4 separate regions of the Homo sapiens genome follow, and regions 2, 3 and 4 are each linked to region 1. The links are contacts of gene promoters, found by promoter capture Hi-C in blood cells and fetal thymus (Javierre and others, 2016). All regions are on one chromosome and are shown on one strand. Each heading gives the region's core, a stretch centred on a gene start or on the middle of the fragment in contact. The rest is flanking DNA. Distances are from core to core; before and after follow the strand shown.

Region 1 (2,700 bases), core at 23-2,522:
CGTCTAACAGTTGGTAGTCATATGTGGGAAGTACTGAAGGGGGAGATGACAGCAGGCCCAGAAACTGCAATGATCCAAGTGCATGTCGATCCTGGGAGGGAACAGTTAAGAGTCCGGGCAGGATGAAACAGTAGAAACTGGTGAGTGAATGAATGTGAAGGCTGAGGAGCGACTGCAATTTGTTAATGGGATTATGAGGCAGTATAAAGTGGTTAATTACGGTGGCGGAGGTAAGCAGGAGTAAAATGATGGCTTTTAACTCCTCTCAAGGACACCGAAAATTATTTTAATAAACACTGGAAGGCTGGGAATAAATATAATTCACACCATTCTTACTTTCTTGGTTTAGAGATAGCTTATCTACATCCTTAAATTAATGGCTGTAGCTACCCTCTGCATGGCTCCAAAAAAAAAACAAAAAACAAAAAACAAAACCAAAGCCGGCTGCGAGTCTGCACGAGAAAATCGGGTTGCACCAGGCCCCAGCCGCCCGCCGATTCGCTTAGCTGTCGGAGGCTAAATAAACAGCTCCCGAAGCAGCGTTTGGCACAGCGCAGGGTCGGAACGTGGACACTAATTTCCGCCCACGCTCCCCGCGTCCTGGCGGGATCACCACAGACACGACGTCCATTGCTGGGGTCCTCGGCGATGCCCGTGTGCGCAGCCCCGCGAGTCTCAGGTCAGAAGACCACTAATTTCGCGGCCGCGTTCCACGAAGCTAAGGGGCAAAAAACCAGCTTTCTTGGGACAAAGCGTCCCCCCAGCAGCCAGGGTCGATCCCGGCGCTGCTCCCGCGGCGCTTGGCTGCCCCGGGCGTAACGGGCCACGAGAAGTAGGGGGTGGGGCGCCGCTTAGGTTTGGGAAGACACGAAGCGGCTCCTCGGGCTTCCAGCGTCCACTTCCTACGGCAAGCAGGAGGAGACAAGCGCCACCCTGCGCTCGCGGAGCCGACCCCGGCTCTCCCCTCCCGTGGCCGCAGGGGTCGTGTGTGTGTGTGTGTGAGTGTGTGTGTGTGTGCAGGGACGCTCCGCGCCCATCACTCTGTTTCGGTGCTAATCGACCGCCGTGGCGCCGATTTCCCCCGCTTCCCAGTTCCTCACCCGCGTGCCCCGGAAGGCGCCCGGAGGCCCCCGGGCCGCCGCGTCACGCTCCCGGGAGGCTGAGGGAAAGGGAGGCAGCCGAGCCGGGAGCCCGGGGAGGCGCGCTGCGCCCCGCGGCGGGGCTGGGGGCGGGGCTAGGTGTCTCGCGCAGGGGGCGGGGCGCGGTGACGTCGCGGGCGCCTGGGCCGTGCTGTGGCGGCGGCGGCGGCGGTAGTGGCGGCGGCGGCGGTGCCTGGGCGGCAGCAGCAGCAGTAGCGGCAGCCCTGAGGACGGTGAGACGGCCGCGGCGGCGGCGACAGCGCGGAAGTCGCGCGGGACCCAGAGCTTCCCCCCTGTCGCTAGTGCTGAGGCTTTCGCCTTTCCTACCCAGCTTCTTGCTCACGGCCCGGGCTGGGCTGGGCAGGGCAACGCGCCCCCGGGGAGGGGCGGAGCTGTAGGTGAGGCTTCGCGACCCCCTCCCCCTCCTCGGCAGCCCGGGGGGTGGGGAGGGGCGGGCCCCACCCAGACCACCGGCGCCCACCCGCGGGCTCCACCCAGCCGGGCTCCGGGATCGGGCGGGAGCCGAGGCGGTAGATGTGGGGATCCTGGGGCGGGAGGTGGGGGAGTGGGGACTGGGGCTCTGGGCACTTGGGGAGCGGAGGGGGGGAGGCTTAGGACTAGTGAAGCCGCGGACGAGGTAGTGGGGAGACGGAGAAATTGGGGAGCCATGAGGTTGGGGTGCGGTCAGGGTGGATCTTTGGGTTAGGTGAGTGATGTAAAATGCTGAAGATGATTCTTTTCTTTTCGATGAAATGGTGAGATAAAAGATGAAGTGTATTTCAAAAGGACGATGAGCTGTGCATGTTGCCTTTGAGGCAGTTGCAGAACCTATTTTATTGCACTAGATCTCACGTTTCTACTTTAGGGTTCGATTCTTTTTCTTCTGGCGGGGTGGGTGGGGGGTCGGAGAGGGAAGAGAATCCCCTTACTTTGGCTCAGGTAAATTGTGAGCGTGGATGTATCTGAAAGTTTTACACCGAAGAAGAGGGAGATCTTCGGTTTAGACAACTTCGTTCCGGCAGCCACCATTTGGGTCGCATTACGCTTAGCTCCTTCAAGGTGGTGTCTTCCAGTTTTTTTTCCCCCCAATGCCTAAAAGATCTCTTTATACCACCCTTTTACAGGCTTTATCCTGGCCCCTTGAGAGAAGGCCCCAAACTCAGGTGGTTGCTTTGGAAGGCACATTGCTGAATAATAGTTGCAGGTGGTTGTGGTTGACTGCTTTGGGTGGATAAAGTGAACAATTGGAATAGTTCTGTTGGAGCTAATTATATGAAAAATGCTTAAATGTTTTAAAGTACAACCGTCTTTTATAGCGTGTTGCTTGCTCAGTACACCTTGACTTTTAGACATTTTGTGTTCAGTGCTAAATTGTTGAAATTTTATTTCTCATTTGCAGTTATGTTTCTTGCAGTCTTTATTAAAACACTTTAAAATGAAATGGAACTCTTTTTTTTTGGTAGGCTCCTCAATTTCTGAGAAATGTTCTTGGAGTCAAGTGCTTTAAAAACATTTTGGGGGCAGGTGTGTCACTTTGTATGGAAATATTAGAGTAAGCAGT
Region 2 (2,700 bases), core at 171-2,670, 420 kb before region 1:
TACCAGGAGACAGGACAGGGCGCCTGCCCTCGCGGGGTGGAAGTTGGTCTTTGGGCCTCTGTTAGCGGAGGGCTCACTGCAGGTCAGCGTGTGGTTGCAAAGCTGCCTGTGCCAATGCAGGGTGGCCCAGGGGACACGTGGGGCCTTTCTGCCAGCCACGGGTGCCGAGGCAGAAGGTCTGACTGCAGGCTGGGCTCCTCACCAATGACCACGAGCAGGACACCGATGACCACCTGCAGGAGCAGAGAGAGGCTGATGAGGGTGACCAGGGTGGTGTAGTAGTGAGAGGATGGTCCCTGCTCCAGCACCGCCTTCAGCCGCATGGCGTTGGACATGAACAGGGCCACGTCCAGCATGCTCTCCGCCACGCTCTTCTTGGTGGCGTAATGGTTCAGGTTGATGGGCTGGCTCCTGGGGTCGGAGCTTCCAGGCTGTAGGGGAGAAAGCACAGACTTACCAAGGGGAGCTCTGGAAGGGAAGCAGTTGAGAGGTGGGAGAGAGGAGAGAGGTTTTAAAGCTCTTTCCAATCCAGATGGGAAGCTCAGGGCAAATGACACCCTTAGTTTCATGGCCTGATAAAATGAAGGGTTGGACGAGAAAACCCATAAGGACCTCTGCACTCTGAAATGACATTCTGTTGCAGTTGATACTTCCTGGAGAGTCACCCCTTCCCTCACACCTTCACACATCTGGCTGGAGAAAGCCGGGAGGGTTCTCTGCTGCTGGTAAAATGCACCTTCCTCACCCTATTCACTATTTTACCTGGGCCAGGCCTCAGCTTTGGGCTGTGTTCTTTTCCTCTGAGAGGAAAGCACCTGAGAAGACAATAAAAAGAGCTTGGAGGCTTGGGTGAAATAGAGAAAGGCACCTCCTCTCGCATAATGCTGTGGCCCCCAAGGCAGGGTGCACAGCTCAGCAGCTGATCATCGGCTGGATTTCCAACCCTCAGGAGCACTGGAGCTGCCGCCCTGCTCAGGCACACACGCTGTCAGACACAGGCTCTCAGCATACACATGCATGCATGCATGAGTGTATACACACAGTAATGCATACTAGTTAAACACTCACATCATTTTAATTATTACTTTTGGCTAGGATTTATTGAAGCATAATTTACTAAAGCTTCTCCAGAAGCCACTAACTCCAAAAGACAGAATCACAATACAGGGCATATGCTGTGGGCCTCTGGGTTGGGCCAAGAATTTCAGACTGGGCGCCATGACCAAGGGCAATCTGCAGTCACTCAAGAGTACTTGGAAGATTGATTTAGCAGTGGTGCTTGGAACAGACTGGGCCAGGAAGGGCTAGAAGCAGGGAGAGTCATTTAAAAGTTATAGTATTGATTTAGGATCAGGGTGAAAAGGAACTGAAGTGGAGCAAGGTGAGACAGGAAGGAATGGAGGACTCTGAAGGATGCTACGGCCTGGAGGTAGGGAAGATGACCCAGCAGATCACCATGACAGGACAGATACCTGCAGAGTGGGGAGAGACGGATGGATTGAAGGATGCTATGGCCTGGAGGTAGGGAAGATGACCCAGCAGATCACCACGACAGGACAGATACCTGCTGCGTGGGGACAGATGGATGGATAGATGGATGCGTGCCTATATATGCACAGTGATGCATACCAGTTAAACACTCGTAATTTGTTTTTAATTTTTTTGGCTAGGATTTATTGAAGCATAATTTACATTTGATTTTGTTTTGAAGTATAAAATAAAGCTTCATGGATGAAGGGATGGATGGATGGATGGAGAGATTGGTGGGTGGATGGATGGATGCGTGGATGATTGGATAGGCAGGTCTCAGAGGGTCTGGAATGTTCCTTGTACTTCGTGCAGCCCCAGCAAGTCACTTCACTTCTCTGTACCTCAGGGATTTACACAGAGGACAGTTGATTTACACATAGGCTAACTGATTTACCTATCTATCAGAACCTTTGGATTCTATGAGCCCTTAGGATACCCCGAAATGAGGCTGGGTGCAGTGGCTCATGCCCGTAACTCCAGCACTTTGAGAGGCCAAGGCAGGGGGATCATTTGAGGTCAGGAGTTTGAGACTAGCCTGGCCAACATGGCAAAATCCCGTCTCTACTAAAAATACAAAAAAATCAGCTGGGTATGGTGTCACACGCCTGTAATCCCAGCTACTCAGGAGGCTGAGGCAGGAGAATCACTTGAACCAGGAGGCAGAGGTTGCAGTGAGCAGAGATCGCACCATTGCACTCTAGCCTGGGTGGCAGAGTAAGACTCTTGTCTCAAAACAAAAACAAAAACAAAACTCTGAAATGCAGTAGTCTCCAGACTTTCTTGATAGTGTAATCTCAGCATTAAAAACTGTTTTGGCCATGCATCCTCAATATATGTACATTCTTCCATTATCAACTATACATATTTTTATTGGACTAATTATATATATAGTAAAATATGCAAAAGTAGAAACATTTGAAAGGATTACATAAAATTCAATATAAATAGAAGTTTAATTTTCTTATCCTAAAATATGGTCTTGGGCACTCGTCTTTGGAGATCCAGCTCTAATCCACATGCCTGGCTACAGATTGGACCAATCCTCTCCTAGGCCAACAGAAGGGAGCCTCTCTTCCCCAGTCCTTCTCCTAACGTTTGCCTTCAAAACTCAGCCCCACGTCTCCACCCTGCTCTTCTCACTTCCTTTCCAAGCTCCTGGCCCTTTGCTCT
Region 3 (2,700 bases), core at 36-2,535, 460 kb before region 1:
AGCTGGCCTCTCAGGAGGTTCTTAGAAGGTTCAGATGAAATCACGCCTGTGGGACACTCAGTAAGCCGAAAGGGCCCACACAAAGCATAATCATGTAAGAAAAGCACTCTCACCCCACACCTGCATTTCAGCGTGCAGCCCCTGATCCCACCCCTCCCCAGGCCTGTTACAGAAACACTCGTGCATAGCGTGGGTGGCCACCTTCGGTGAAGCCCATATTCGTGGGTGGTGCTCTGTGTTCTGTGTCTGCGTGGCTGTCTGTGTCTCTGCTGGTGCTCACGTAGGGGTTCCTCTGTGACACTTCTGCCTACTGTCGACTCTTGGCTCCCAGGGGTCGGGGACTGTCAGGCTAATTCCGTCTAAGCAGTGCCCAGCGCAGCATCCTGGGGACATCGTGGTGAAGCTGTTGAGGGAAAGGGGAGCTCAGTGGAAATCCGTGGCACACTGGGGTCCTAGTCTTAGCCTTGCCACTACTTGCTAAGTGAGCCTTGATCAGCCATTTGACCAGTGTGGGTCCCATTTTCCTCACTTGAAGGGAGGATGAGGTGATCTCAAAAGCCTCTTTCGCTTCCAGTGGTCTACGGTTCTGGTTTGTGACTAACAGTGGTTTGGTTCCACTTATCCAAAGCCCAGCAATCTCCTCTGAGATGGGAGTCCCAGCCCTCGGGAGTGTCAGCAGTGGCCGGCCGCCGGACTGATTCTCCCCGGCCCTCACCCTGGTGCAGCCCCTTGCCTCCTGACTTGTGAATGCGCGTGCACCCCCCAGTTTCCTGTTCCCTCCCTCCCTCTCGCCATGGTTTGGCTTTTTGCCTTCCCAGGTGCGTGTAAGCCAACCTGGTCCAGAGCCTTCAGGGTACAGACAGCGTCAGCCACACGCAGCCTCCCGGTGACTCCAGTAATAGCAGGGCCTCTGATCTTGTATCTCCAGTGGTTTATACCTTTGTTTGACAGACATCACATCCCAGGCCCACTCTTTCCTGCCTCTCTCAGCTCCGGCTCTATCCAGCAACCCAGTGATCAGTGGTAGGGGGTCCCCACCCATTAGTAAGCCTCTGCTGTTCCCCGGGCTCAGGGCACAGAAACTGAGCAGGAAGGGAAGAGTGTACCGCCTGTCACGACCATCTCTCCACGGCAGCTCTCGGGATAAATTGGCCTCCAGAGGCAGCCGGGGGAGAACGAGCTGGTAGTGGGAGGCCCGTGGTCCAGGCTCACCTGGACTGGCTCCTTCTCTGGTTTCTGGAAGGCGGTGACTGCTGATGGGATGTAAGCTCATCTCCTCTCTCTGCCCTGTGGGCCTTGGCCAGTCTGCAGCTATCTCCTGCCCCCAGCCCAGCCCTCTTCCCACCCACCCTCTGAAGAGAGGTGAGAAGGGAAGACGGTTCCCTCCATTAACCTCCCAAATCTTTTAGGTGTATGAGGTTTCCAGGTTACGCTGACCTGAGGGCTCCTCTCTTCCCCTTCCACAGGGTACGGCAGCTGGAGAGAACTGGCCAAGGCTCTGGCCAGCAGGAACATTCCAGCTGTGGATCCACACCTCCAGTTCTACCATCCCCAGAGGCTGAGCCTCGAGGTAGGTGACCAGCCAGTCCATTGTCCCTGCTGATGCCTTAACAAAGGTCCGCAGGTGCTCTGCCCAGTTGCCTTAAGGGTAACCTCTGCTACTCTGGGAGGAGAGGCAGAGGATAAACAGCCCCCAGAGTCCTAGTCTGGCCTCAGGACCTCCTAGCTGAGCCTTAGAGATGTCCATCCAGCCTCCTCAAAGCCAGTAAAAGGAAACTTTTACTGGGGCTGCCACTGGGCCTGGTTTTCTGGTGTCTGCCCTCGTTCCCTAGTTCAGTTTGCCCGTGCCGGAACCACTCCGGGCCTGCGACCTCCATCACCAGTGGCATGTGGTGCCTCTCACTAGGGTGAGGGCTGGGCTGTGCTGTGCTTGCTGCTGAGATCAGAGGTGACGAGGTGGATGGACACCCCTCCCTGCCCGTAGCTGGGAGTACAGACTTGTGGTGGAGCATTTGCCTGCAGTGCTTCTTGAACCAATGGTCCCTAAGGAGGCAGATTAGAGAAACTGGGGTCTAATTCATTCAGGAGCCCCAAGGCTGAGCCTAGAACAGACATGGATTCCAGAGCTGGACCAGAGCCAAACTGAACCTGTGGACCTGCACAATAGGGAGGGTTTGGTGGTGTCCCTGAGGGGCTCCCACTTGTTGGAACCCAAATCTATACAGCTGGGGGATAAGGAGGAAGAGGGAGCCGAGGTCCCTGCCCTCAAGAGGTCCTGACCTAAAGAGGGTAAACTGCTTTCCCATATGGGGAGGACAGAAAATTCAGAAAAGTGAAGGAACCCGAGGAGCAGGCGCTGATGAAACTATGGAGATGTATTCCCAGGACATGGTGTGAATGACAGACGGCAGCGTGCTCCGAGCCGACGCCTCCTGGGAGCAGGCACTGTGCCTCCTGTCCTGCCCGTAGCTTCTCATCCTAATATTCCTACCAACTTCGTTCTTCATTCTTCCCCTAGGACCACGACATTGACCAAGGGGTGAGCAGTAACAGCAGCTACTTGAAGTGGAACAAGCCTGTCCCCTGGCTCTCAGAGGTGAGGGACTTTCTATTGTACCTGCCCTTTGAGAGAGCTAAAAAATAATGTTTACAGATAATTCCAGAGATCACAGAAAACTTTCTACTAGGGACCTTCTACCG
Region 4 (2,700 bases), core at 152-2,651, 360 kb before region 1:
ATGACAGTCCAGCAAGCTTGTCCAACCCACAGCCTGTGGGCCCCGTGCAGCCCAGGACGGCTTTGAACGCGGCCCAAAACAAATTCGTAAATTGTCTTAAAACATTATGAGTTCTTGGTTGGGCATGGTGGCTCACGCCTGTAATCCCAGCACTTTGGGAGGCCGAGGCAGGTGGATCACCTGAGGTCAGGAGTTTGAGACCAGCCTGACCAACATGGAGAAACCTCGTCTCTACTAAAAATGCAAAATTAACCAGGCCTGGTGGCGCATGCCTGTAATCCCAGCTACTCAGGAGACTGAGGCAGGAGAATCACTTGAACCTGGGAGGCAGAGGTTGTGGTGAGCCGAGATCGTGCCGTTGCACTCCAGCCTCGGCGACAAGAGCAAAACTCAAAAAAAAAAAAAAAATATATATATATATATATATATATATGAAGTTTCTTTGCGATTTTTTAAAAGTGTATCAGCCATTGTTAGTGTTGCTGTATTTTATGTGTGGGGCAAGACAATTCTTCCAATGTGGCCCAGGGAAACAAAACAATTGGACACCCTGGATGATGAAAAAGAGCACTCTTCAGCCCCTGCTGTCACCAAAGCCCCACCTCAGTTCTTGCCCTTAGGTAACGCCAAGATAGCAAAATGGAATTTTACCAAACCGCTCTTAGGTTCCTTCCCCAGGAGACCAGAAATGCCCTGGGGACTGCCTGCCTTTGAGGCAAATTTTTTTTCCTTTTTAAAGAAAGTGGTAAACATCTGAAAATAGAGTTTTTGAAAGAAAGTGACTCTTCAGTTGTAATTATAGCAGAGAGGGTCATTGCTTTCTATCAGCAAGAAAGCTGCTTCTATTTTTTTTTATTCTCTTTTTCTTGGTTTTTTGTTTTGTTTTGTTTTGTTTTGTTTTTTGAGACGGAGTCTCGCTGAGTTGCCCAGGCTGGAGTGCAGTGGTGTGATCTCGGCTCACTGCAAGCTCCATCTCCCGGGTTCAAGCGATTCTCCTGCCTCAGCCTCCCGAGTAGCTGGGACTGCAGGCTCCGGCCACCACGCCTGGCTAATTTTTTTTGTATTTTTAGCACAGACGGAGTTTCACCATGTTGACAGGCTGGTCTCGAACTCCTGGCCTCAGGTGATCTGCCCGCCTCGGCCCCCCAAAATGCTGGGATCACAGGCGTGAGCCACCGCTCCCCGCCGCTGCTTCTAAATACAGCCTGTATAATGCAAATCCCCAAAGAGGGCCAGCCTCTGGCCCCATTCAGCTTCCTCCCTCAGAGGCTGGGTGCGTGCGCCCTGGGCGGGGCGGCGGGCTCCCTCCGGAGAGGCCCCAGCCCGGCCTCGTGCCCCTCCCCAGCAGGCTTCCGGCCCTGCGCACAGACCCAAATGGCGCGGGAGGAGGAAGAAGGGGTCAGCTTCAAGCCTGACGTTCTAGGGGGGAGCCGCTTCTTAAGTACGTGCTAGGATCAAGGGTGCATTTGCAAACTTTTCAAAATGCCTTAGAGGAGGTAGGAGTCAAGCCCTTGGGATCTGGAGGGGAAGGAGGAGAGTCAGTTAAACCGCAGAAAGGTTGGTGGGGAGTGGGCTCAGTAATGGCCCCTGTCACAGCCTCGGGCCGGGACTCGCCAGCTCATTTTCTATTTCTAACTCAATGCCAGGCACTGAGCACTGTGCTCAACCTAGTAATTTGGAGACGGAGGTGGATATGCATATAACAGAACAGGATGCTCTCCGGACAAACGTTCTGAAGGAAAAGCAAACGGAAGATCCTCCCGCCTCTGCTGGGCAGTCTCTAATGACCCCTGGGGTATGTTCCAGACATGCGTGGGCATCTGCGAATTTACTCACCTGAGAGCTGCCTCTACCTTTTTTTGTTAAATTTTTATTTATTTATTTATTTATTTTGAGACGGAGTCTCCCTCTGTCACCAGGCGGGAGTGCAGTGGCGTGATCTCTGCTCAATGCAACCTCCGCCTCCCGGGCTCAAGCGATTCTGCTGCCTCAGCCTCCCGAGTAGCTGGGAGTACAGGCGCGCGCCACCACGCCCAGCTAATTTTTATATTTTTAGTACAGACGGGGTTTCACCATGTTGGCCAGGATGGTTTCTATCTCTTGACCTCGTGATCCGCCTGCCTCGGCCTCCAAAGTGCTGGGATTACAGGCGTGAGCCACCGCGCCTGGCCTGCCTCTACCTCTGATCCCTGGGATCAGAAATGAGAAATGCAAAGATTGTCCCTGTGTTATGTGTGTACTGTTTGTAATTGTAATTCACAATCCCCTTTCTTGCTCCTCACCCCATATTCAATTAAGAGAGAAAGGTGAAAAACACAAAGCACAAAATGTTTCCAGGAAACTATCTGAAACTCCTGGAAGGCTAGATTTAGGTATAAACAGAGTAGAACTCCAGATTTCTGCAATGCTCCTTAGGGGCTGAGCTTCCTGCATGCCCTTGACAATTAGAGGAGTTTTTTTTAATACTTCAAAATTATTCCAGAAAGGCATGCAGATGAGAAGATAACCAGGTTATGAGGAAGCCCAAGGTATTTGGTAAGGATGCTCAAGTTTTGGGGAAGGTCAGCTGAAATAGCAATTTGTGGGTGGACTATTAGCAGGGAGTTGACTGGAGAATTAATCAGACGTTGAAGGGACATGGGGGACCCGGGAGGATGAAGTCTGAACTCGGGCTCAGGATATGGAAAAAGATTGAGTAAA

Evidence for each region. Contacts are between HindIII fragments. The CHiCAGO score rates a contact against its expected background, and 5 or more counts as called.
Region 2: a contact is called between a fragment that was not itself captured here and the fragment with the promoter of ERC1 in region 1, in 10 of 17 cell types (total CD4 T cells, activated CD4 T cells, naive CD4 T cells and 7 more). The highest score is 8.1, in total CD4 T cells.
Region 3: a contact is called between a fragment that was not itself captured here and the fragment with the promoter of ERC1 in region 1, in 1 of 17 cell types (neutrophils). The highest score is 5.5, in neutrophils.
Region 4: the fragment with the promoter of NINJ2-AS1 here is called in contact with the fragment with the promoter of ERC1 in region 1 in 1 of 17 cell types (naive CD4 T cells); the score reaches 6.0 in naive CD4 T cells.

The regions. Positions count from the first base shown.
Region 1 is chr12:989,951-992,650 of GRCh38, forward strand. ERC1 (ELKS/RAB6-interacting/CAST family member 1) reads left to right here and starts at 1,273. Exons shown (of 19, transcript NM_178040.4): 1 at 1,273-1,372. It also overlaps a transcript of RAD52 not described here. RefSeq lists enhancers at 104-666, 1,228-1,789 and silencers at 488-537, 948-1,057, 1,078-1,587, 1,793-2,087. The HindIII fragment of the contact is 9,168 bases long and covers 1-2,700 here.
Region 2 is chr12:565,748-568,447 of GRCh38, forward strand. It overlaps NINJ2 (ninjurin 2), which reads right to left. Exons shown (of 4, transcript NM_016533.6): 2 at 203-431. Among named protein-coding and RNA genes, the nearest start is that of NINJ2-AS1, 64 kb to the right of the region's middle. RefSeq lists enhancers at 1-169, 170-669. The HindIII fragment of the contact is 601 bases long and covers 1,121-1,721 here.
Region 3 is chr12:533,700-536,399 of GRCh38, forward strand. It overlaps B4GALNT3 (beta-1,4-N-acetyl-galactosaminyltransferase 3), which reads left to right. Exons shown (of 20, transcript NM_173593.4): 2 at 1,467-1,570; 3 at 2,519-2,596. Among named protein-coding and RNA genes, the nearest start is that of B4GALNT3, 75 kb to the left of the region's middle. RefSeq lists an enhancer at 736-1,235. The HindIII fragment of the contact is 3,965 bases long and covers 1-2,700 here.
Region 4 is chr12:629,490-632,189 of GRCh38, forward strand. NINJ2-AS1 (NINJ2 antisense RNA 1) reads left to right here and starts at 1,402. Exons shown (of 5, transcript NR_122124.1): 1 at 1,402-1,496. All of the region lies in intron 1 of NINJ2 (ninjurin 2), which reads right to left. RefSeq lists silencers at 1,188-1,267, 1,328-1,427. The HindIII fragment of the contact is 3,290 bases long and covers 15-2,700 here.